7 separate regions of the Homo sapiens genome follow, and all the other regions are linked to region 1. Evidence: promoter capture Hi-C in 16 types of primary human blood cells and fetal thymus (Javierre and others, 2016). All regions are on one chromosome and are shown on one strand. Each heading gives the region's core, a stretch centred on a gene start or on the middle of the fragment in contact. The rest is flanking DNA. Distances are from core to core; before and after follow the strand shown.

What was found. Contacts are between HindIII fragments. The CHiCAGO score rates a contact against its expected background, and 5 or more counts as called.
Region 2: a fragment that was not itself captured here is called in contact with the fragment with the promoter of ZC2HC1A in region 1 in 1 of 17 cell types (total B cells); the score reaches 6.6 in total B cells.
Region 3: a fragment that was not itself captured here is called in contact with the fragment with the promoter of ZC2HC1A in region 1 in 1 of 17 cell types (non-activated CD4 T cells); the score reaches 6.0 in non-activated CD4 T cells.
Region 4: a contact is called between a fragment that was not itself captured here and the fragment with the promoter of ZC2HC1A in region 1, in 1 of 17 cell types (total B cells). The highest score is 5.5, in total B cells.
Region 5: a fragment that was not itself captured here is called in contact with the fragment with the promoter of ZC2HC1A in region 1 in 1 of 17 cell types (non-activated CD4 T cells); the score reaches 6.7 in non-activated CD4 T cells.
Region 6: a contact is called between a fragment that was not itself captured here and the fragment with the promoter of ZC2HC1A in region 1, in 2 of 17 cell types (activated CD4 T cells and non-activated CD4 T cells). The highest score is 7.1, in activated CD4 T cells.
Region 7: a contact is called between a fragment that was not itself captured here and the fragment with the promoter of ZC2HC1A in region 1, in 2 of 17 cell types (total B cells and naive B cells). The highest score is 6.6, in total B cells.

What each region holds. Positions count from the first base shown.
Region 1 is chr8:78,664,579-78,667,658 of GRCh38, forward strand. It overlaps ZC2HC1A (zinc finger C2HC-type containing 1A), which reads left to right and starts at 1,511. Exons shown (of 9, transcript NM_016010.3): 1 at 1,511-1,586. The coding sequence starts at 1,571. It overlaps LOC105375911 (a long non-coding RNA gene), which reads right to left and starts at 1,401. Exons shown (of 4, transcript XR_007060972.1): 1 at 427-1,401. RefSeq lists enhancers at 634-1,142, 1,143-1,650, 1,615-1,664 and a silencer at 1,325-1,544. The HindIII fragment of the contact is 1,596 bases long and covers 926-2,521 here.
Region 2 is chr8:78,916,440-78,919,519 of GRCh38, forward strand. The region is part of intron 1 of MITA1 (metabolism induced tumor activator 1); the gene reads left to right. The region is part of intron 2 of LOC105375912 (a long non-coding RNA gene); the gene reads right to left. Among named protein-coding and RNA genes, the nearest start is that of LINC02605, 80 kb to the left of the region's middle. The HindIII fragment of the contact is 3,702 bases long and covers 1-3,080 here.
Region 3 is chr8:78,422,620-78,425,699 of GRCh38, forward strand. All of the region lies in intron 3 of LOC105375911 (a long non-coding RNA gene), which reads right to left. Among named protein-coding and RNA genes, the nearest start is that of PKIA, 92 kb to the right of the region's middle. The HindIII fragment of the contact is 4,374 bases long and covers 1-3,080 here.
Region 4 is chr8:78,896,105-78,899,184 of GRCh38, forward strand. The region is part of intron 1 of MITA1 (metabolism induced tumor activator 1); the gene reads left to right. Among named protein-coding and RNA genes, the nearest start is that of LINC02605, 60 kb to the left of the region's middle. The HindIII fragment of the contact is 1,424 bases long and covers 727-2,150 here.
Region 5 is chr8:78,440,509-78,443,588 of GRCh38, forward strand. All of the region lies in intron 2 of LOC105375911 (a long non-coding RNA gene), which reads right to left. Among named protein-coding and RNA genes, the nearest start is that of PKIA, 74 kb to the right of the region's middle. The HindIII fragment of the contact is 6,955 bases long and covers 1-3,080 here.
Region 6 is chr8:78,458,052-78,461,131 of GRCh38, forward strand. All of the region lies in intron 2 of LOC105375911 (a long non-coding RNA gene), which reads right to left. Among named protein-coding and RNA genes, the nearest start is that of PKIA, 57 kb to the right of the region's middle. The HindIII fragment of the contact is 1,385 bases long and covers 721-2,105 here.
Region 7 is chr8:78,859,900-78,862,979 of GRCh38, forward strand. All of the region lies in intron 1 of MITA1 (metabolism induced tumor activator 1), which reads left to right. Among named protein-coding and RNA genes, the nearest start is that of LINC02605, 24 kb to the left of the region's middle. The HindIII fragment of the contact is 2,388 bases long and covers 253-2,640 here.

The DNA.
Region 1 (3,080 bases), core at 261-2,760:
CTCAATATTCGTCTTGCCTTCAGTGAAAGAACTTGTAATTTGTAAAATAATGGCTTCCTTATTTTTGTATTTTCTTCTGTGTGCTTTTTTTTCTCCTTAATGCTCTTTTAAAAGGCCTTCCCTCCCAACCAAAAATTCTACCTTTGCCTTAGTAGCACTAAGGAAGAAAAAGGACCTTTCCGCAGCACCCAGTCTAGAGTAGCTTATTGCCTGCAAGGCTATGGGTTGGCCAAGGAGGCCCAGGATCTCAGAGAAGCAGAAGAGCCAGGGGAACCAGGGAAGGGCGGAGGGAGTCATTGAGGCATGGTTGAAGTGGTCTTTACATGGCTCCACACAACAGATGGACTCTACCACATTCAAATGCACTTGGAGCACCTTCTCAGTAAGAGATGATGCCCCCTCAAGTGTTTGCTTGTTTAAACATACCTTCATGTGAGTGGAGAGTAGGAGGAATCCTGCTTCCTGAAGGTAACTGATTTCATAGTAGATGAAGTTAGATATGAAGTTAAACTCTTCAATTAAACAGATTAACAATAACATTAATCCGAGGTTTGTTATGGACAACACATTAATACTGGTAACTTGCCAGTAGATACGCTATAGTCAGCAAACAGTACAGCTTGTTTACGATTGCTAAATCAAATTTTCAAAGAAATGTAGTTCTGGTAATTGTAAGCAAAACCGTTAAAATGGTCTGAGTTAGTTTTGAAGTTACTTTCATCTTCAGGAGGTTTTGAACTCTGTTAGAGACGGGCGGGCCTCATTCTGTCAGGTTGTAGGTTAATTCCCCAACTCAAACTTCCCCGATCAAACATTGTCAGGCCAGGCGACTGTTTTGGTTTATGGATGATAAAGTATAGGGCCAAGGTAGGCCAAGAGTAGAAGACAGAGGGAGGGCTGGGTTTCACTTCTAATTTTTGGCCCAAGCTTTCATGGTGAGGAAACTGTTTTCAAGGGCTTAGAGCAATCGCAGTTCCACAATCGCAGATAGAAAGTATGATTTCTCTGGAAAAAAAGTGTCTTAACCTATGAAGCTGTGTGTGAAGATCAAGTGTAGGGGATACGCTGAGGTCAAGTCATGCGACCAAAGACCGGAAAACGGAGATTGCTGCATGCAAGCGTGCTGGGCGTTTGTTTGGTTTGCTTGCCTGCTTAAAGTATCCACTGGGAGGGATGGCGGCTAGAAGTCAGAGGCATTGACTGATTGAGGAACTGGTGAAGCGGAGCCCATGAGGTGCTGAGGTACTCTAAATAGGAGGATAAGGTATGAGGCAAAACAAGGCTGGAGTCAAACAAAGGCGCCGTTGCATCGCAGATTGCAACCTGAAGCGGCTCCCGGCTCCCTGGAGAGTAACCCGGAGAGACGGACAGGGGTGGCAGCCAGGAGGAGACCGCAGGAACCTCGCCTCCGCCGCGGCCCCGCCCCCACGGATCCCCGCCCCCGCAGTTGCGGAACCAATGGGAGCTCGGAATGTTAGCGGGTGGGAGGTGCGGCTGGGTTGCTACAGCCAGAGCTGGGCGGTGGCGGGCGCTGCTGAAGGAGTCTCGCTGAGCTCGAGGAGGTGGCGCGATGGAGGGACTGGAAGGTGAGGCGATGAAGGGATGAGGGCAGGACGGCTAGAGCGGGCCCGAAACAGCTGGGGACCCTGGACACCAGTAGCAGGAAGGCGAGGGCTGGTTCGGTGCGGCGGACCTCGCCGCGTCCCGCCGCGCCTCCGGAGGCTGGGGCCGAAGGGAACCGGACAGTCCCCGATGCGGTGGAGCTAACGCTACCAGGCTGCCCCGCCTCAGACGGTCTTCAACTGGGCTTTCCCGCCCGGAGCCAGATCCTGCCCCTGGCAAGACGCCTGCACGTCTCTTCCTACCATTTTCTGATCTTGCTTGACTCCTGAGTGCCCTTTTAGTGATCCCAGTCTCTGGCCAGATTTTGTTTTCCTTGTACTGGACTCTCTCCATTATTGTCCACGGCCTTAACACCAACAGGCCACTTTGTGCTGCAGCCCCGGGGTGTGTCTCCAGCCTCGAGCTCCTGACATTCCTTGGCCGATTTCCCTAGGTAACCGGCTTTTTACATTTCGACAGCATCTTCTGTCGGAGGGATGTCAGAGCATCTCCTAAGGAAGTGTCACTGGCCAGCTTTAGAGCCGGTACAATAGATTACCCGGAGGATTTGATGACTTATTCACGGCCGCTGTGTGAGGAAGAGCCTGTATTGGTTCCTTATCTTTGGGTTTATCTTTGTACTGTAACCATGACTCCAGATTTTGCTTTGTTCCCAGTTCTTTCACTTTTTCTCTATTCTGTTTACCCATTTTATCCTGTGTAATGAAAGCATTCACCTAAAAACAAAGGAAGGACAAAAACCACAATAACTAGCATTGGCAACAACAGTTTCAAGATTTTTTAATTTGTTATGATGAAGAACAAACCTTCAGAATTGAAAGATCCTATTGTCTTGATTTAGCTCCTTTCCCCCGTCTCCTAGTTTACACGGATTCAGTTGGAATTAAGAATGAGCAGAAGCTTTTGAGTCTTGTGTATTGTTGCATGCCAGGGAGTAAAATATTCTACATTGTGTGATGAAGTGCAAAGTGGTAGCCGGTAACTTTTTCAGTCACCTATTCACCAAAAAGCAGATGTAATAACATGAGTAGAAGTTTATTTCGTGCTTTTGCTCTGATAAATGATTCTGATAATTTTCCGTTTGTGGACAGCTGCAGTATGCTATGGCCTAATGAAGGTCTTGTTTTTTGCTTATGTGTTTTTGGAAGATAATTCAAGTTTCCATGAAATAAGGAATTGTAATGATAGTACAGTATATTTTACTTTCAAGATACTTTTGTATCTTGGTGGGATTAAAGCATGGGTTATGGAATTCTCATGAGATTATCATATATAATATGATAAGGTTTTATTACATATTATCTATAAAGTGTTTTGAACAGTTTGCAGATTTTTATTATTTTATTCAACATTTGTTATTAAGACAAAGATCATCATCTGATTTTTCACTTATGTATCCTAGGCACCTAAAACAATGTCTGACACAAAGTAGGTACTCAATAAATATTTGTTGTTAA
Region 2 (3,080 bases), core at 406-2,905, 250 kb after region 1:
AAAACAAAAACAAAAAACCATTAAAATAGCTGGGACTCTAGTGGGTAATGATATATCAATATTGGTTCATGGATGAGATTACACTGGGATCACACAGCTCTGTGTGTGTGTGTGTGTGTGTGTATCTATCTATCTATCTATCTATCTATCTATCTATCTATCTATCTAATATTGCCTTTCTAAAATCCAAAATATTTGGAATTCCAGAACTGATTTTTCTCCAAGGGTGTTCATCCAGTAATTGTGGAACTTTAGAATCTATTCCATAGGGTCTTGTGAGAATTAAATGAGATAATTCACATGACAGGCTTACCCTCACTACATGGCATATACTATATGTCATCTATAACAGTAATATTATAATTGTTATTATCAGTTACATGTCCTAACATTCCATGAATCAAACAAATTCTCTTCTCTGTATCCTGAAATCCTAGGTGGTCTCAGCTATTTGGAGAAGTTGGAGGAGTTCTAGTACCCAAAACCTAGAAACATACTTTTCTAGTGAGGATTCATACCCCTAATTATATACACTTTCATTATGTGGTCATTAGAGAGACATTGGCTTGTATCCACGCATTTAAGATCTTATGTTATGGATTGTATCTGTGCAATAATGTGATTAACTGTTTGAACTGCGTTGAACAGAAAGATGTCCCAAATCTGTGGCTTATTTTTTTTTAATTTTTAAATTTTGTAATTTTAAAATGTTTTTTTCTGGGTACATATCAGGTGTATATTTATGGAGTATATGGGATATTTTGATGGAGACATACGATCTTTTAGTTATTTTTAAATGTATAATTAAATTATTATTGACTATAGTTGTGCTACCAATTACTAGATCTTATTTATTCTTTCTATTTTTTGTACCCATTAACCATTCCCACCTCCACCCCGCTATTCTCTTCCAACTACCCCTCCCAGTCTCTGATGACTATCATTCTACTCTCTATCTCTATGAGTTCAATTGTTATAATTTTTAGTTCCTACGAATAAGCGAGAACATGCGATGCTTGGCTTTCTTTGCCTGGATTTTTTCACTTAGCATAATGACCTCCAGTTCCATTCATGTTGTTGCAAATGACAGAATCTCATTATTTTTAATAGCTGAATAGTAGTACTCCATTGTGTATATGTACAACATTGTCTTTAATTTTTTTTTATTTTTCCATAAGTTATTGGGGTACAGGTGGTATTTGGTTACATAAGTTCTTTAGTGGAGATTTGTGAGCTCCTGGTGCCACCCATCACCCGAACAGTATCGCTGCACCATATTTGTTGTCTTTTATCCCTCGCCCCACTCCCACTTGTCACCCCAAGTCCCCAAAGTCTACTGTATCTTTTTTTTTTTTTGAGATTGAGTCTTTCTCTGTTGCCCAAGCTGGAGTGCAGTGGCACGATCTCGGCCCACTGCAACCTCCACCTCCTGGGTTCAAGCAGTTCTCCTGCCTCAGCCTCCCAAGTACTGTATTATTCTTATGCCTTTGCGTCCCCATAGCTTAGCTCCTACACATCAGTGAGAACACAGAAGTAACTCAGGAATGGAAAACCACACTGTCTTTATCTATTCATCTGTTGATGGACACAGGATGTTTCCAAATATTGGCTATTGTTAATAGTGCTGCAATAAACGTGGGAGTGCAAATATCTCATAAATATACTTATTTCTTTCTTTTGAGTGTATCCCTAGCAGTTGGATTACTGGATTATATGGTAGCTCTAGTTTTAGTTTTTGGAGAAATCTCTAAACTGTTCTCCATAGTGATTGTACTAATTTACATTCCCACCAACAGCATATAAGGACTCCCTTTTGTCCACATCCTCGCCAGCATTTGTTATTGCCTGTCTTTTGGCAATAATTAACTGGGGTAGATGATATCTCATTGTAGGTTTGATTTTCATTTTTTTGATGATCAATGATGTGGAACACCTTTTCATATGCCTGTTTGCCATTTGTATGTCTTCTTTTGAGAGATGTCTATTCAGATCTTTTGCCCATTTTAAAATTGGTTTATTAGATTTTTTCCCTATAGAATTGCTTTAGCTCCTTATGTATTCTGGTTATTAATCCCTCGTCAGATGGATTGTTTGCAAATAATTTCTGCCATTCCGCGGGTTGCCTCTTTACTTTGTTGATTGTATCCTTTGCTGTGCATAAGCATTTTAACTTGTCGTGATACTATTTGTCCATTTTTGTTTTGGTTGCCTGAGTTTATGGGGTATTACTCAAGAATTTTTTGCTCAGTTCAATGTCCTGGAGAGTTTCTCCCATGTTTTCTTGTAGTAGTTTCATAGTTTTAGGTCTTAGATTTAAGTCTTCAATCCATTTTCATTTGATTTTTATATATGGTGAGAGATGGCAGTCTAGTTTCATTCTTCTGCATATGGATATCCAGTTTTCCCAGGACCGTTTATTAAAAAGACTGTTCTTTCTGCAATGGATGTTTTTGGCACTGTTGTCAAAGATGAGTTCACTGTACATGTATGGACTTGCTTCTGGGTTCTCTGTTCTGTTCCATTGGTCTATGTGTCTGTTTTTATGCTAGTATCATGCTGTATTGATTACCATAGCTCTGCAGTATAACTTGAAGTCAGATAATCTGGGTCCTCCAATTTTGTCCTTTTTGCTCAGTATAGCTTTGTCTATTTTGTGTGGCTTAATTTCTACCTCATAAATTGTGGTTTCTTCAAGATTTTAATGGGCTTTGAAGCATGATTATTCTCAATCTGTGAAGAATCAGGCATGTTATTGTCATGAGGGCTTTACAGCTCTTGTTTTTAATGATATAATTGTGCACTAAGAACTTTTCTTTCCTAAAAGAGTTACAAGAGAACAGAAAGTGGCATGAATCCATCTCTATATCATCACCTTGTTCTGGCGGCGATCCAGGGGGCACCACATTTATTTTCATTTAGAGATAACCAAACACAATGAGGACATACACACTGTTGTCCTTTTTTGGGGGGGACCTGACTCAGATGCTTCCTTTTTTTCCTGTTTGTAAGCCATGGTGTTCAGGAGAACTTGATACTGACCCAACACTCACAGTTATGGTTCATTGCCAAGAGTGGCCTGA
Region 3 (3,080 bases), core at 315-2,814, 240 kb before region 1:
CCTGATGTGAGATACAGATTTAATTTTATCTTCTGCATATAGATATCCAGTTTTCCCAGCCTAATTTTGAAAGAGATTGTCCTTTCTTCATTATGTGTTTCTAGCATTTTTACTGAATATCAATTGATCATAAATGTGTGAATTTATTTCTGGGCATTCTATTCTGTTCCACTGGTCTATGTGGCTGTTTCTATGCCATTATCAGGCTGTTTTAACTACTATAGGTTTATAGTATCTTTTGATATCAGTTAGTGTACTACAACCAGCTTTGTTCTTTTGCTCAAGACAGCTTTGGCTATTTGGAGTCTTTTATGTTTCCATATGAATTTTAGAGTCTTTATTGTATTTCTATGAAAAATAACATTATAATTTTGATAGGGATTACACTGAATCCATAAATCACTTCAGGTAGTATGGACATGTTAATAACATTATTTCTTCCAATCAATGAACGTGGAATACCTTTATGTTAGTGTTTTTCCAATTCCTTTCATCAATGTTTTATGGTTTTTAGTGTACAGATCTTTCCCCTTCTTCCTTAAATTTATTCCTAAGTATATTATTCCTTCTGATGTTATCGTAAATGGTATTATTTTCTTAACTTCTTCTTTGTATAGTTTGTTGTTAGTGTGTTGAAACTCTACCGATTTTTGAATGCTGCTTTTGTACTCTGGAACTTCACTGCATTGATTAATTAGTTCAAACAGTTTGTTGGTAGGGTTTTAGGCTTTCCTCCTTATGATATCTGCAAACAGAAACAATTTTACCTTTCAGTTTGAATGTATTTTATTTATTTTTCTTGACTAATTTTCTGACTGGAACCTACAATACTATATTGAATAGAAAAGTTAAGAATGAGCACCCTTGTCGTCTTCTCTTCTTCCTGATCTTAGAAAAAAAGTTTCAACTTTTTACCATTGAGTATGATGTGATCTGTGAGCTTGTCATATATGGTCTTTATTATGTTGAGGCATGTGGTTATATTTATGTTCTATACATTATTAAGTATTTTTATAATGAAATCATGTTGAATTTTTCAAATTTTCTTATGCATCTATTGAGATGATCATATAATTTTTATTTTTCTGTTAATGTGGTATATCACATTTATTGACTTGCATATGTTAAACTATCCTTGCATTTCAGGCATCAGTCTCACTTGACCATGATGGCTGATCTTTTAAATCTGCTGTTGAATTTGGTTTCCTGGTATTTTCTTGCAGACTTTTGGATCTATGTTTATCAAAGATATCGGACTGTCAGTTTTGTTTCTCACAGTATTCTTGTCTGGTTTTGGTATTAGGGTAATGGTGGCCTCATAAAATTGAGTTTGAAAGTATTCTCTGCTCTTCAATTTTTTTGAAAAAGTTTGGCAAGCATCAGCATTAATTCTCCTTTAATTGTTTGGAAGAATTCTCCTGTGAATTCTTCAGGTCCTGAGCATTTTTTTGTTGGGTGGTTTTTGACTCCTAATTAAATCTCCTTATTGGTTATTAGTCTGGTCATACTTCTCTTTCTTTATAATTCAGTCTTGTCAACTTTACCTTTTCACAAAGCCAACTCTTAGTATTATTGATCTTTTCTAGTCCTTATTTATTTCTGTTCTAATCTAGTCCTTATTTATTTCTGTTCTAATCTTTATTATTTCCTTTCTTCGTCTATCTTTGTGCTTAGTTTGTTCTGCTTATTTTATTTTTCTGAGGTGTCAAGTTAGCTGTAAAGAAAGATTTGAGGTTGGGCATAGTGGCTCACACCTGTAAATCCAGCACTTTGAGAGGCCAAGACAGAAAGATTCTTTGAGGCCAGGAGTGCGAGACTAGCCTGGGCAACCCAATTTCTACAAAAAATAAAATAAAATAGTAGGTATGGTGTTCCATGCCTGTAGTCCTACCTACTTGGGAGACTAAGCTGGGAAGATCATCTGAGCCCAAGGATTCAAGGTTATAGTTAGCTATCATTGCACCACTGCACTCCAGCCTGGGCAACAAAGTGAGATCCTGTCTCTAAAAACAAAAACAAAAACAAATTAATGTAAACAACTACCACTATAAGTTTTCCTCTTAGAACTACTTTTGCTGCATTTCATAAGTTTTGGCAGTTTGTCTCAATATATGTTTTATTTCCCTTTTGATTTCTTCTCTGACTCATTGGCTGTTTGAGAATGTGTTGTTTAATTTCCACATATTTGTGAATTTTCTAATTTTCCACCTTTATCAATTTCTAGATCCATACCATCATGATCAGAAAAGATACTTGATATGATTTTAATTTTCTTGAATTTATTAAGAGTTTTTTTGTGGCTTAACATATCATGTATTCTAGAGAATGTTCTGTGACAGCTTCAAATATATATATATTCTATATATATGTTCTATATATGTCTATTAGGTCCATTTGGTCTCTACTGTCATTCAAGTCTGATATTTTCTGATTGATTATTTTTCCCTGGATGATCGATATATTGTCGAAAGTGGGGTATTAAAGTTCCCTATGGTTATTGTATTGCTACCTCTTTCAACCTTCAGTTCTGGCAATATTTGCTTTATGCATTTAGGTGCTCTGATATTGGGTACATATATATTTACAACTGTTATAGCCTTTTGATGAATTGATCCCTTTATCATTATTAATGACCTTGTCTCTTGTGATAGTTTTTGACTTAAACTCTATTTCGTATGATATAAATCCAGCCTGCCCATTCTCTTTTGATTACCATTTAATTGAATATCTTTTCTAGTGCCTTCACATTCAACCTATGTGTGCCTTTAAACCTAAAGTGAGTCTCTTGTAGGTGGCATATAGTTGGATCTCATTTTTTTAATCCGTTCAACCACTCTATGTCATTTGAATAATCCATTTACATTTTAAGTAATTATTGATGGATAAGGATGTACTGCCATTTATTCATTATTTTCCAACTATTTTGTAGTTTCTTTTTCTCTTGCTATCTTCTTTTGTGATTTGATAATTTTTATAAAAGTATTCTTTTATTCCTTTTCCCTTAAATTTTGTGTATCTACTACAAGTCTTTTTTGTGGTTATAATGGGGCTTAAGCAAAACATCTTGTAGCTATAAAAGT
Region 4 (3,080 bases), core at 189-2,688, 230 kb after region 1:
TATTTCATTTAGGGAACTAATGTCTAAAAATAAGAACAAGCAAATTTAGTGGGCTATAGATTCAGCTGGTTATCAAGTGCTACTTTGCAGATAGAGACCTTGAGGACTAACTCAACAACCCAACAATCAAGGTCGAAGATGGTCTTGGGGGCAAAAGTGAAAAGTGTAACCACTAGGGACTCTTTCTAATGCTGGGCTTTCCCAAGGGGTGAGAAAGGGATGGATTAAAGGTGAAATGCTTGAAACATTGTATTCTCGGTCTGTAATTGCTGAGAAAGGGATGGAATAAAGGTGAAGGGCCTGAAACATTGTATTCTCTGTCTGTAATCGTTAAGGAATATAGCAATAATTCCTCCACTTGTTTGTGGAAATAACAATGGACCCAGTTTAGATAATTTGATTCTCCAGAAGGGCAGGCATTTTCTCCTTTCTATGAAAGAGTTTATTGTGTTAAGTATATAAAACAAAATTATGTCAAGGACAGGAAGGCACTACAAAATGACATGGAGTCATGCATATATTTAAGCACGAGCAGGAACCTTGGCATGATTAATTTTAGGTTTGCCATCTTAAAAATTCTTTACAGTGGGAAATAATTCAATTTCCTCCTAAAAGTTACATTTTTGCTTAAATAATCACCAGCTTGAACTGTAATTTAGAATGGAAGAATGAGAATTCTACCTGCCTTTTTATTTGTCAATTATGTGTTTAATTATCATTTGTCTAAGCTTGGACTTCATTGTGTTCACATTTTTTCCTGACGTGCTATGTTTGAAGAAATGTAGAATTCTGCACTTTATTCAGACCTTACCTCTGATTAAAGCAGAAAGGGATGTCCATGTGATCCACTTTCCTTGTTTTCAGAGAAGAAAACTGAGACCTAGCGAAAACAAGTGCCTCAGCTGAGATCTCACAGTTGGTTAGCAGTGCTTGGCATTTAATCCAGGCCCCATTCCACGACTACATTTGTCCATTTCATTTATTAGGAATTTGTGTAGACAAGTCTTTCTGTTAAATTACTTTACCTTGAATTTGTCTCATCTTTTTCCTAAAAGGGCAATGCAGAATGAACACAAGGACTCCTTTGCTATCTATTGCTAAGTATAGGGAAGGTGGAAAGTACCTGGTTGCCTCTACAGCTCTTCTCTGTGTCCTTGTGTGTGGCACCACTGTTTGACAGCAAAACTAAGCCAATGCCTTGCATTGAGGCACACTGGGGATAAAAATCTCATTCATTGATTGATGAAAAACATGCAAGAACAAATTATTCCTTCATTGTCATTCATAAAGCATTTCCCTACCACCAAACTTCACATCTCCTCTTTTCCTTGCCTAATCTTGCTTTCCTACAGAAAATGTTCAGCATGGATAGTTGGGGGAAACAGGAGGGAAAATATAGGAAGTGGTTAGGAGAAAGGCAAGATTGACCCCAGCAAATGATTTTGAAGCATGCCTGGAAATAGTTGGCATCTCAGGCTAGACATAAATTCATTGTCTTGAGTTCACAGCACTTGCCTTTTATTTTCTGGAAGTCACACTTCTTCAGTGAAATAAAAAATGTCCCTAATGGTGGTAATCTCACTTCTTCCATGGAAAAAAAAATTCTCATTATCACCTCCTCTGCACACTCCTAACCAACCTCCCAGTAATCTTGTTCTCTTTAATTAACCTACTTCCTGTAATTGAAAAAAAATGAAGGAAATCTTTTTATTTGGCCAGCTTATAATTTAGTTTATATAGAGGAACATTTTATTTTTTAAGCTAAAACTATAATACAATATCAAATAGAGAGTAGGTGCTAAAATATCTGATGAGCGAGTGGATTGATTGGATGATGAGTTTAGTAATCATTTTTTTGGTACTTAGACTGGTCAGCCTTTTTAGGAGGGGGAGACAGATAGATAGTTACTGTGATAAGAGTTTGTTGTAGTTTAATGGAGGAGACATACAGGTAAACGATAAAAACAGTGTAACATGATAAATGTCGTTAAGAGATAGAAACAAAGCACTGTGGAATCTTTGAGAAGAGAATGAGAAATTCTCTTGGGGTGTCAGGAAAGGCTTGTAGCAATGTTAGCATTTGAGTTGGATCTTAAAGGATGACTAAGACTGTCCTAGGATTATGAAAATGGACAAAAGTGGAAAAAGAAAGCTTTCAAGCTTATGCAAAGACTTGGAGGTTATAGAAACCTGGCATGTTTGATGAACACTTAGAAATTTTAGAAATTTGGTGTGGCAGAAGCCTTGAGGGAAGTGGCAGGAGATGGTGTACGCTGGAACCAGAGTCTGAAAAGTCTTGAATGTCAACTGGGGAGGTTGGATTTTATTTTCTGGGCAGTAGGCAACCAAGAGAGGCTTTAAACCTGGGAATTTACATGCTTGATTTTTTTCTGTTTAAAAAAGAAATCTAGGGATGATATCTATAAGGGTCTTGTTACAGAAACCAGTTAGGGAGTAATTTTAACAGTTCAAGTGAGATGTCTTATTCGGTTTAGCCTACTCTCACAATGTACCATAAACTGGGTCATTTATAAATAACAGAGATTTATTTTTCATAGTTCTTGAGGCTGGAAGTGTGTCATCAGGGCATCAGCATGGACATATTCTGTTGAGGGCTGTCATCCATGTTACAGACTGCTGACTTTTGTTGTGTCCTCACATGGCAGAAAGAGGACAAGAGAGCTCTCTGGCCTCTTCCTGTAAGGGCACTAATAATCTCATTTGTGAGGGACCCTCCCTGGTGACCTAATTACCTCCTAAATGTATCACCTCCAAATATTATCACAGTGGGATTAGGGGCTTGAGATATGAATCTGGTGGCACACAAACATTCAGTTCATTGCAGGTAAAATGAAGATTGTCAGTGACAGTGGAGACAAGGAGTAGAGGTCCCTAATGCAGACTCAACAGATTTCAGTGACTGACTGAGAGGGTAGTTGACAGTAGAACTGAGGTTCTTATAGTGGGAAGTCATTAACTTGAGAACATAAAATACAGATAAGGTTTTCACTTATTCCACACACGTTTCATTAAAAATCCTTCATGTATCAAGACCTACTTGGGAATCTTACGAAAGAGAA
Region 5 (3,080 bases), core at 402-2,901, 220 kb before region 1:
CTGCTAGTAATAAAAGCACATCTCCCAGAAGTGATGAAAGCATAATTTCAAATGGTTCATAGTAAGGGAGTTTTCACTTTTGATAAACTGTGTATAGTCAAAAGCATGGTCGCAACTTTAAACCTATTTTATTTCCATTAAATCCATCTTTAAATTACAATATTAAAGAACTTCTTGTCCCACTAATAATTATACTATACTTTTTTAAACTTTTAATTACTGAATGCAACAAATTTTTAGACTAAGAAAACAAACTCATTTCTAGTGTACTATTTCTGTAATATATTAATTTTTATAAAATATTCTGTTTTATTTATACTATCATAATTATCATTAATTTCAAATCTTGTTTTTTGTTGGAGTAACAGTTCATGTGATGCATAGTAAAACACATAAAAAGACATATAAAATACCCCCAGAATATAGCCCATTCTAATTGCCTATTGCCTGTCTTTTCCAGATTTTTGTATAATATCCATGAAGTTTAAACTGATTTTAAAATTCTATGATTTTGGTGGTAATCTATCAGAAAATATAAATTGAAAAAAATAGTAAGCTGACCCTCTAGACTATAAATTCCTAAAATCAAAAGCATGCCATATTCCCCCTTTCCTTAACTAAATTGTCTGTAGTTCAACCTGAGGGTAATTAAGGCAATGCTTTATGTGCTATTTTGATGCTAGCCAGGGTAGTCAAAATTTTAGTCATAATAGGCAAATTATATTCTCTGACCTCAAAACATGGAACCCACCTTCCTCCTTTTATTAAGTTACTGTTCTTTCCTTGTTCTGAGCAGTATCTGTGCTTTTTCTCAGAACTACTTTATTGTTACCTGACTTCCCAACCTTCTTGTGTTTTGATTGTTACAACCTTGGTAATAAAGTAAGATTAAATAATTCATTGGCTTACCATTGTGTTAGAAAATAAAGTTTAATTTTACTAAAATGGCACAGAAAACTCTTTATAATCTAGCCCTATCAGCCTCATCTCCACTGTTTCCCTTTCTCATTTTTACTGCAACATTATCATATTGCATACAGTTCTCAAAACATGCAAATTAGTTATTTTGAACATGTTGTTCTTCCCAGCTGAAATGGTCTTATCCATATTAGTTCTTCAGGGTGATTTCTCATTCTTCAACGACCATGTAAATTACCATATCCTCTGGGAGGTCCTTCGTAGACAGTAACTCCTCTCTTCTTAAATCACCAAACAGCATGATGATTACTCATTTAGATGTAAAACTTCCCAGTGAGCATCTTGAAGACACAGTCCATGTGCTTATCATTGTACTTGCAAATGATAAGGTGCTCAACAAGTATTCTGATGAATTAACTAAGAAATTTGTATTGTAAGCTCCTAAAACACAGTGCATTTGAATTGAAAAAGATTTCATACGTATTAAAAGAATTTTGTGATGGTTTTTGATAAATCTATTTTTGAACATTTGTAAAAATAGGAAAATCATTTTATCAATGGTCTATAAAGGAAATAGAATTGCAAATCTTCAGCATTTTAACTTTAAATACTTAAGCCAGACATACGCTGCCACCTTTGAGCCTATGGATTTTTGTGCTACTTTTCTAGATGAAATTTGAAGCATGTGGCACTTTAAAATGATCAGTAAATCTTTAGTTAGGGTTAAGGAAACTCTAACCTTCCTTTGACATCTAGGAGTAATTGAGCTGGTAAGAATCTGTGGGACACACGATTTCCTCAAAATCAAGGAATCTTTATTAGTATGATCGATCTTCATATGCTTTCATCGAACATTTTCTATAGTGAGTAACTCATCCCGTTTTTGGTCAGTTCCAACTATTAAAACATTTCTTCCTTTACACAGCAAAATTCTACTCTCATGATGTCCCACAGCTGTTTTGTCCCACACAGAGGTCAATGATTTTCATCTGACTCTTCACATGTTTGAGGTTTAGTTGCATTAATTCTTGAAGTTAAAATGAAAAAAAATAAGACTATATATATCACTCTGGATCAATTTTGGCATCAACATAAAGAAAAAAAAGATATCTTTCTATATATAAAAATAATAATTTGTATAAAGTTTTTAACACATAAAACCCATTATATTTTATTGGTATATAATATTTGTACATATTTATTGGGTACATGGGATATTTTGTTACATGCATAGAATGAATAATGATCAAGTCAAGGTATTTAGTGTATTAATCACCTGAAGTATTAATTATTTCTATGTGTTGGGAACATTTCAAACCTCAGTTTCCTCAGTGATCATATAAAATTAGCCCTTGACTACTCTTCTTCCAAAAACAAAGCAATATCCAAAAGACCCAACTGTTTCAAAGTGACTTACCTATGTCACTGAACAAATCCCAAGAATACTTTCAGAAATAAAAAATATGCAGCACAGAAAAGGTAAATTCATAATATCTAATAACCCATCAAAATGTACCAGGCAAACAATCAAGCTGAAAAATACAACCCATAATGAGAGGTAAAATCAATTAATCAATTGAGACTATATATTTTACAGATAAAACACTGTAGACAAGATCATTAAAGTAATCACTGTAACTATAAACCATATGTACAATAAAACAGAGTGGAAATGAGCATATTAAGTAGAGAGATGGAAGATAAATATCAAAATTACCCTTCAAAAGTTTCAAACACAATGTTTGAGATAAAAACTACACTAGGTGAGATTAAGTACATAAGATTTTTGATAGAGTTGGTTAAATTCTCTATGATCTGAATGATTTTCTGTCTATCTGTTTCACTAATAATAAAACAGGGAAGCTGAATTCTTCTGTAATTGTAGGTGGTCTCATTTCTCATTTTTCCTCAGGTATCTTAAATTTCTCTTTTCAGGAGCATAAATATTTGGAAGTATTATTTCTTTTTGATTAATTGACCTATTTGCCATGTTGAAATAATACTCTTTATTCCTGCTCTATTCTTTGTGCTGTGGTATCTATTATACTTTGCCTGATGTTATTACAGGCACTCCAGCTTGGTACATATGTCTTCCAATCCTTTGCTTTTAACTTAAATGTTTCATTATATAACTGGTTACTTTTGTTATATAACTGGTTATT
Region 6 (3,080 bases), core at 163-2,662, 210 kb before region 1:
TAAAAGATCTCCACCATGAAAACTATAAAGGATTAATGAAAGAAATTGAAGAAGATGCAAATAAATAGAAAGACATCTTGTGTTCATGGACTGGTAGAATTATTATTGTTAAAACATCTATAACTACCCAAATATATCTGCAGATTCAATGAAATTTCTATTAGAGTTCTATTGTCATTTTTTACAGAAATAGAAAAAAAGAAAATTCTAAAATTTATATGGAACCACAAAATACCCTAAATAGCCAAAGCAATCTTTAACAGAATAAACAAAGCTGGAGGCATCGCACTGATTTCAAAATATACTACAAAGGTATAGTAACTAACACAACATCATACAGGCATAAAAACAGACACATAAGCCAGCGAAAGAAAGGAGAGAACCCTAAAATAAATCCATGCATTTATACAGCCAAATGACTTACAACAATGGTGCCAAGAATATACAATGGAGAAAGGACAGTTTCTTTGCTGGATGATGCTTGGAAACTGGATATGCATATACAAAGAATGAAACTACACTCCCATTTCTCATCATGTACAAAAACCAGTGCAAAATGAATTAAAGACTTAATTGTAAGACCAATAACTATAAAACTATTAGAATAAAACATAGTGAAAATATTACATGACGTCAGTCTGGCAAGGATTATTTTAGACAAGATGTCAAAAGGACAAACAACAAAAGCAAAAATAAACAAAAAGTTTGCGCCAAACTAAAAGCTTCTGCACAGCAAAGAAAACAATAAACAGAATGAAGAGACTAGCTAGATATGTGGGAAAATAATTGCAAATTATACATCTAAAAATGAGTTAATATCCAGAATTTCTTAGGAACCCAAACAACTCAAAGCAGTAATAATCATCATCATCATTATCTGTATACGAAATGGACAAAAGACCTGAACATATTTTCTCCAAAGAAGACATACAAATAGCTCACAGGTATATGAAGAAATACTCAACATCACTAACCATCAGGGAAATGCATATCAAAACCACAGTGGGATATCACCTCACCCCAGTTAGAATGACTACTATTGAAAAATTTAAAAATAGCAAATGCTGAAGAGGATGTATGAAAAAAAGAACTCTTGTGTACTTTGGGGAATGTAAATTAGTATGAACATTATAGAAAATAGTATGGAGCACCCTCAAAAAATTTAAAATAGACCTAGATATAAAACAGCAACCCATCTTATGGGTATATACCCAAAGGAAATAAAATCAGTATGTTGAAGAGAGATCTGTACTTTCATGCTTAGTGCAGCACTATTCACAATAGTAAATACATGAAATCAATGTAAATGCCCATCAATGGATGAGTGGGTAGAGGAAATGTCATATATATATATATATATATATATATATATATATATATATATATACACACACACACATATATATACACACATATGCAACAGAATATATTTAGCCATAAAAAGATGAATTCCTGTAATTTTGCAATAGCATGGATGAGCCTGGAGGACATGTTAAGTAAAATAAGCCAGACACAGAAAGACAAATACTCCATGTTCTCATTCATGTATGCAATCTAAAAATTTGATCCCATAGAAGTTGAGAACAGAATAATGATTACCAAAGACTGGGGAGAACAGAAGGAGAAGGATATGGGGAGAGGCTAGTCAACAGATACAGTATTACAGTTATGAGGAATATGTTCTCATACCTTACTGCACAGTAGGGTGACTATAGTTAACAATAATGCATTGTATTTTCCCCATAGCTAGAAGACTTTGAATGTTCTCACAAAAAAGAAATAATAAATGTTTAAGGTGATAGATATAAGTACCATGACTTGATTATATTATACGTACATTTATCAAAACATCACATTGTACCTCATAAATAGGCATAATTATTCCTCAATAAAAAAATAAAGAACCAACCTACTTCACAATCATAATTATCATCTTTCTTACATCTGTTGCATGCAATAGATACCATGCTCCAAATAAATTAACTCCCTCATCTACCTCATCACAGATAGTCATAGGTAAAATGTTTAGTAATTGCCATGCCAATTTACCTTTTTGCTCATAATATTGTCTTAGCCAGACAACATGGAAGCTGAGCCTAAAGATAAGCTTACATGCTAATGCTCTAGTCTGTAGTATCTCAAGTCTGGTCTGCCCAACAGGTCCATCTGCATTGCCTTGGAACTTGTAAAAATGGCAAGGTCTTGGGCCCCACTGCAGATATATTGAATCAGAATGTCTAAGGACAAGCCTTGACATGGGTACTTTAAAAGTTCTTCAGGTGATTCTTTCATTTACTAAAGCATGAAGGATAGTGCTTTATAGGATGATACAGTTAAAGTAATGGAGAACTGAGGCAGGGAGGGAAAGGAAGCAATATAAAGCTGCACAATAAGATCAGCCAGTTGTTTTGTCTGCAAAATACAGCTCCAAACAAGGTTTACAGAAACCCTAATCCATTGAAAGCATAAAAACTTCTCTCTTACCTTTTTCTCTCATTGCTCAAACTTGACCCCATGGTTTATTGCTTCTGCGGCACACCAGGTCCCTTCATGTGGCTACTGTGAAAAGTATACCCCATTCCATAAGTGTGAAAGTAGTAGGAGGGGCAAAATGTATGCTCTGCAATTTTTCAGATTACATCCAAGCATGTTTCCTTATTTGTACATTTTATTTTTTCGTTTTATCTTATTTCTGAAAAAAGATGAGAATTTTGTAAAATGAAATAAAAAGGCATTCTTTTGTTTTTCTGGAGACAGAGTCTCATTCTATCCCCCAGGCTGGAATGGAGTGGCATGATCTCGGCTCACTGCAACCTCTGCCTCCCAGGTTCAAGCGATCCTCATGCCTCAGCCTCCTGAGTAGCTAGGATTACAGGCGTCTGCCACCATGTCCAGCTAATTTTTGTATTTTTAGACGGGGTTTCGCCATGTTGGCCAGGTTGGTCTCGAACTTCTGACCTCAGGTGATCTCGCTTCCCAAAGTGCTGGGATTACAGGCGTGAGCCACCGTGCCCGGCTGACATTCTTTTGTAAATGATGATCTTGCATCTCTCCTAGATAGTGTCAGTAATTGACTTCTG
Region 7 (3,080 bases), core at 197-2,696, 200 kb after region 1:
TTGAATCAAAGATGAATTTAAAATTAAAATTGCAGGGTTGCTATTTCTGGCAATAATGCAGAATACATGTCTGGAAAAGCCTCACTACAATGCAGATTTGTATGTGGGTAAAGTAAAACCATTTTTTTTTTAATGTGTTGACTATAACGTAAGGGGATCCTTGTGAGTTAAAAAAAAGAGAGTTAGCAAACTGATTGGGAAATAGAACTGAAATCTATAACTACCCAGCAGAATAGTTTCAGAAAAACAGGAAGCTTTCCCAGAAGACCAGGCCTTGGACCTAGGCAAAGAGAGAGAGGTTGAAAATAAAGCTCTTGAAGAAAGTTGAAAATTAAAAGGGCTAAAATATTAATAAAAGAGTAGATGGAAAAAAGCCAAGCAAAACAAAAACAACCAAAGAAAAACTTCTTAGGAAGAAAGGTAGAATACAAAAATACTTATTTGTTTTGGTTACTACTTTCAGTGGGCAAACAATAAAAAGGTTCTGGGAGTGTGTAACCACATTGGTTTGGTGTTCAAATTTACACTATTTCTGTGGATTAGGGAAACACAAGCTGAGAAATGAACTTAAGTTCCTTCAAAAGCAAACAAAATTATAGCATGCATAGCAAAAGACAAGTAAACAAACAGAAAGAAAGAACAAAATAAACATCATGAAATAAGATGCTGAGTTATGTTAGAAGGAAAGTGTAAATCTTCTGGAAAGGGATGTAACCTTATCCAGGCCTGGTGGACATTCCACCAAAAGGTTATACTGGATATAAATTCACAATCAAAATTAAAACACATACACAAAATTAGCCACACTGAATGAGAACAACTGCAACAGAAAATATGAAAAATAAGGATATGCAATAAAAATATTTTATAAAGAAACCAAAAAGAACTTGTAATGAAAAATATAATTGAACATATATCTAATAGGACTTTTAGAAAAAAATAATTGAGACAAGGAAAGAGAGGATCTATTTAAACAGATAAAGACTAAGATTTTTCCTAATCAATCAAAGGCATGAATCTCTGTATTAAAGAAGCATAAATGACTCTTTTTTAACTCTTAAGTTCAGAGGTACAACTACAAGTTTGTTACATAGGTAAACTTGTGTTATGGGGATTTGTTGTACAGGTTATTTCATGACTCAGATGTTAAGCCTAGTACCCATTAGTTATTTTTCCTGATACTCTCCCTTCTCCTACCCTCATTTCTCTGAAAAGCCCCAGTGTGTGTTGCTGTCTGCTATGTGTACATGTGTTCTCATCATTTAGTTCCCACTTATAAGTGAGAACATGCAGTATTTGATTTTCTGTTCCTGTGTTAGTTTGCTAAGGATAATGGCCCCTAGTTCCATCCATAGACAAAACCTAAATAAGTCTTAAGTAGATATAACAAAGATGAAATCCATACCGAAATTCATCCTTGTTTTCTAACAGATCACCAAAGGTAGAGAGATCTCTAAAAAGCCACAGAAAAATGATCCTACACATGTATAAAATTGACAGCAAATTTCTTAACAATAGAAGCCAGAAGACAGTAGAGGAATCTTTCCAAGTGTTGAGAGAAATAATCTGGCATTTTTGTATTTTTTCAAGAATGATGGTGAAAAACATTAGAGCAAGTAAAAACTGAATTTATCTCTAATAGACACTCACTAAAGCATCTTGAAAAGGATGTACTTCAAAAGGAAAGAATATTATCCTAGGAAGACTATGAATGCAATATCAAATGGAGAAAAAAAACCTCACATGCTAAAGAATATAAAATATAACCAGTATAAATAAACATATAGAACATATATTGAACATATAAAACAATAATGTCTAATTTTGTGTTAAATAAGTCAGATATAAAATGCTGCACAACAGTATCATGAAAGATGAGTTGGAGTTGATCAGAGTTAAAGTGTTGTAAGGTCTCTTTTGTTGTTTGAAAGAGTAGGAAAAGAAAATACTAACTTCATTTTCATATTAAAATTTTCAGGAAAACCATTAGAAAAATAGAAATAGGGTGCATAAATTATGAAAGAAGAGAGAAAAGAAATAAAAGAAGAGAAATTAACCTTAGACAAAGGTATAAAAGGAAATAAAATATGCTATAAAAGCAGGACAAACAGCAAACACAAAATAAAATGGTAGAAAGATTCCAAATATATCAGTAATCACAATAAATATAAATGGATGATTCTCACCACTGAAAAAAGATTTACAGATTATGTTAAAAATTATCAACTATATGCAAGTTAAACCCAATAACTTAAGGTTCCAAAAAAGATGACAAAAGGAAAAAGTACCCAGAAGAGATTAACCAAAAGATATTAATATTGACATATTAATATCAATAAATTACATTTAAGTCAAAAAATAGAAATAAAGAGAACTACTACTTAAATATTAAATGCTGAATAAATCAAGTTACCCTATATTTTTGGCCAGTTCCCTGTATACAACTGGCAGTTAATATGCTTTGCTTATTTTCTCTTGTGTTGTTTGTCCTTCTTTTATAAATTGTTGAAATTCATTTTTCTATTCTAGATATTAACCATTTATAGTTAAATGCATTGCAAATGTTTTCTCCCAGTATGTGTTTGTCTTTTCAAACATTTGTATTGTGTTTGGGGATTGGTTCAGTTTTCTTTTCAACTAAGCTTGACTGCAGTGCTCAGATCCTTACTGAAAGGAAATGGTATCCAAATAAGTCATGAAATGCAGGACATATTATTGGCAAACTTATCATATACAGTTGATGGTGGTGAAGTGTTCAGTGAAGCAAGTATGTGCAGCACTTGATGCTTGCTGTGCTTACCTCTTATGACTGCAATAATTACTAAAAACACTGTGACATGAGATGGTTGCTCCTCAGTGCAAAGAAGCACTTTTAGAAAGAAAATATCTCACATCCTTAAACTTTCAGGTGATGGGACTCTCAGACAGGTCCCATAGGTAAAAACAGATAAATCCTATGGAAAATCTAAATTTATCTCTTGTTTCTTGATGTGCTATGATAATATCTCTGAAAAAAAAAACAGAAACTAAAGTTAATTGTATGGATTGCAGAGGGTGAGTTTGCACCTTCATTAAGTGGC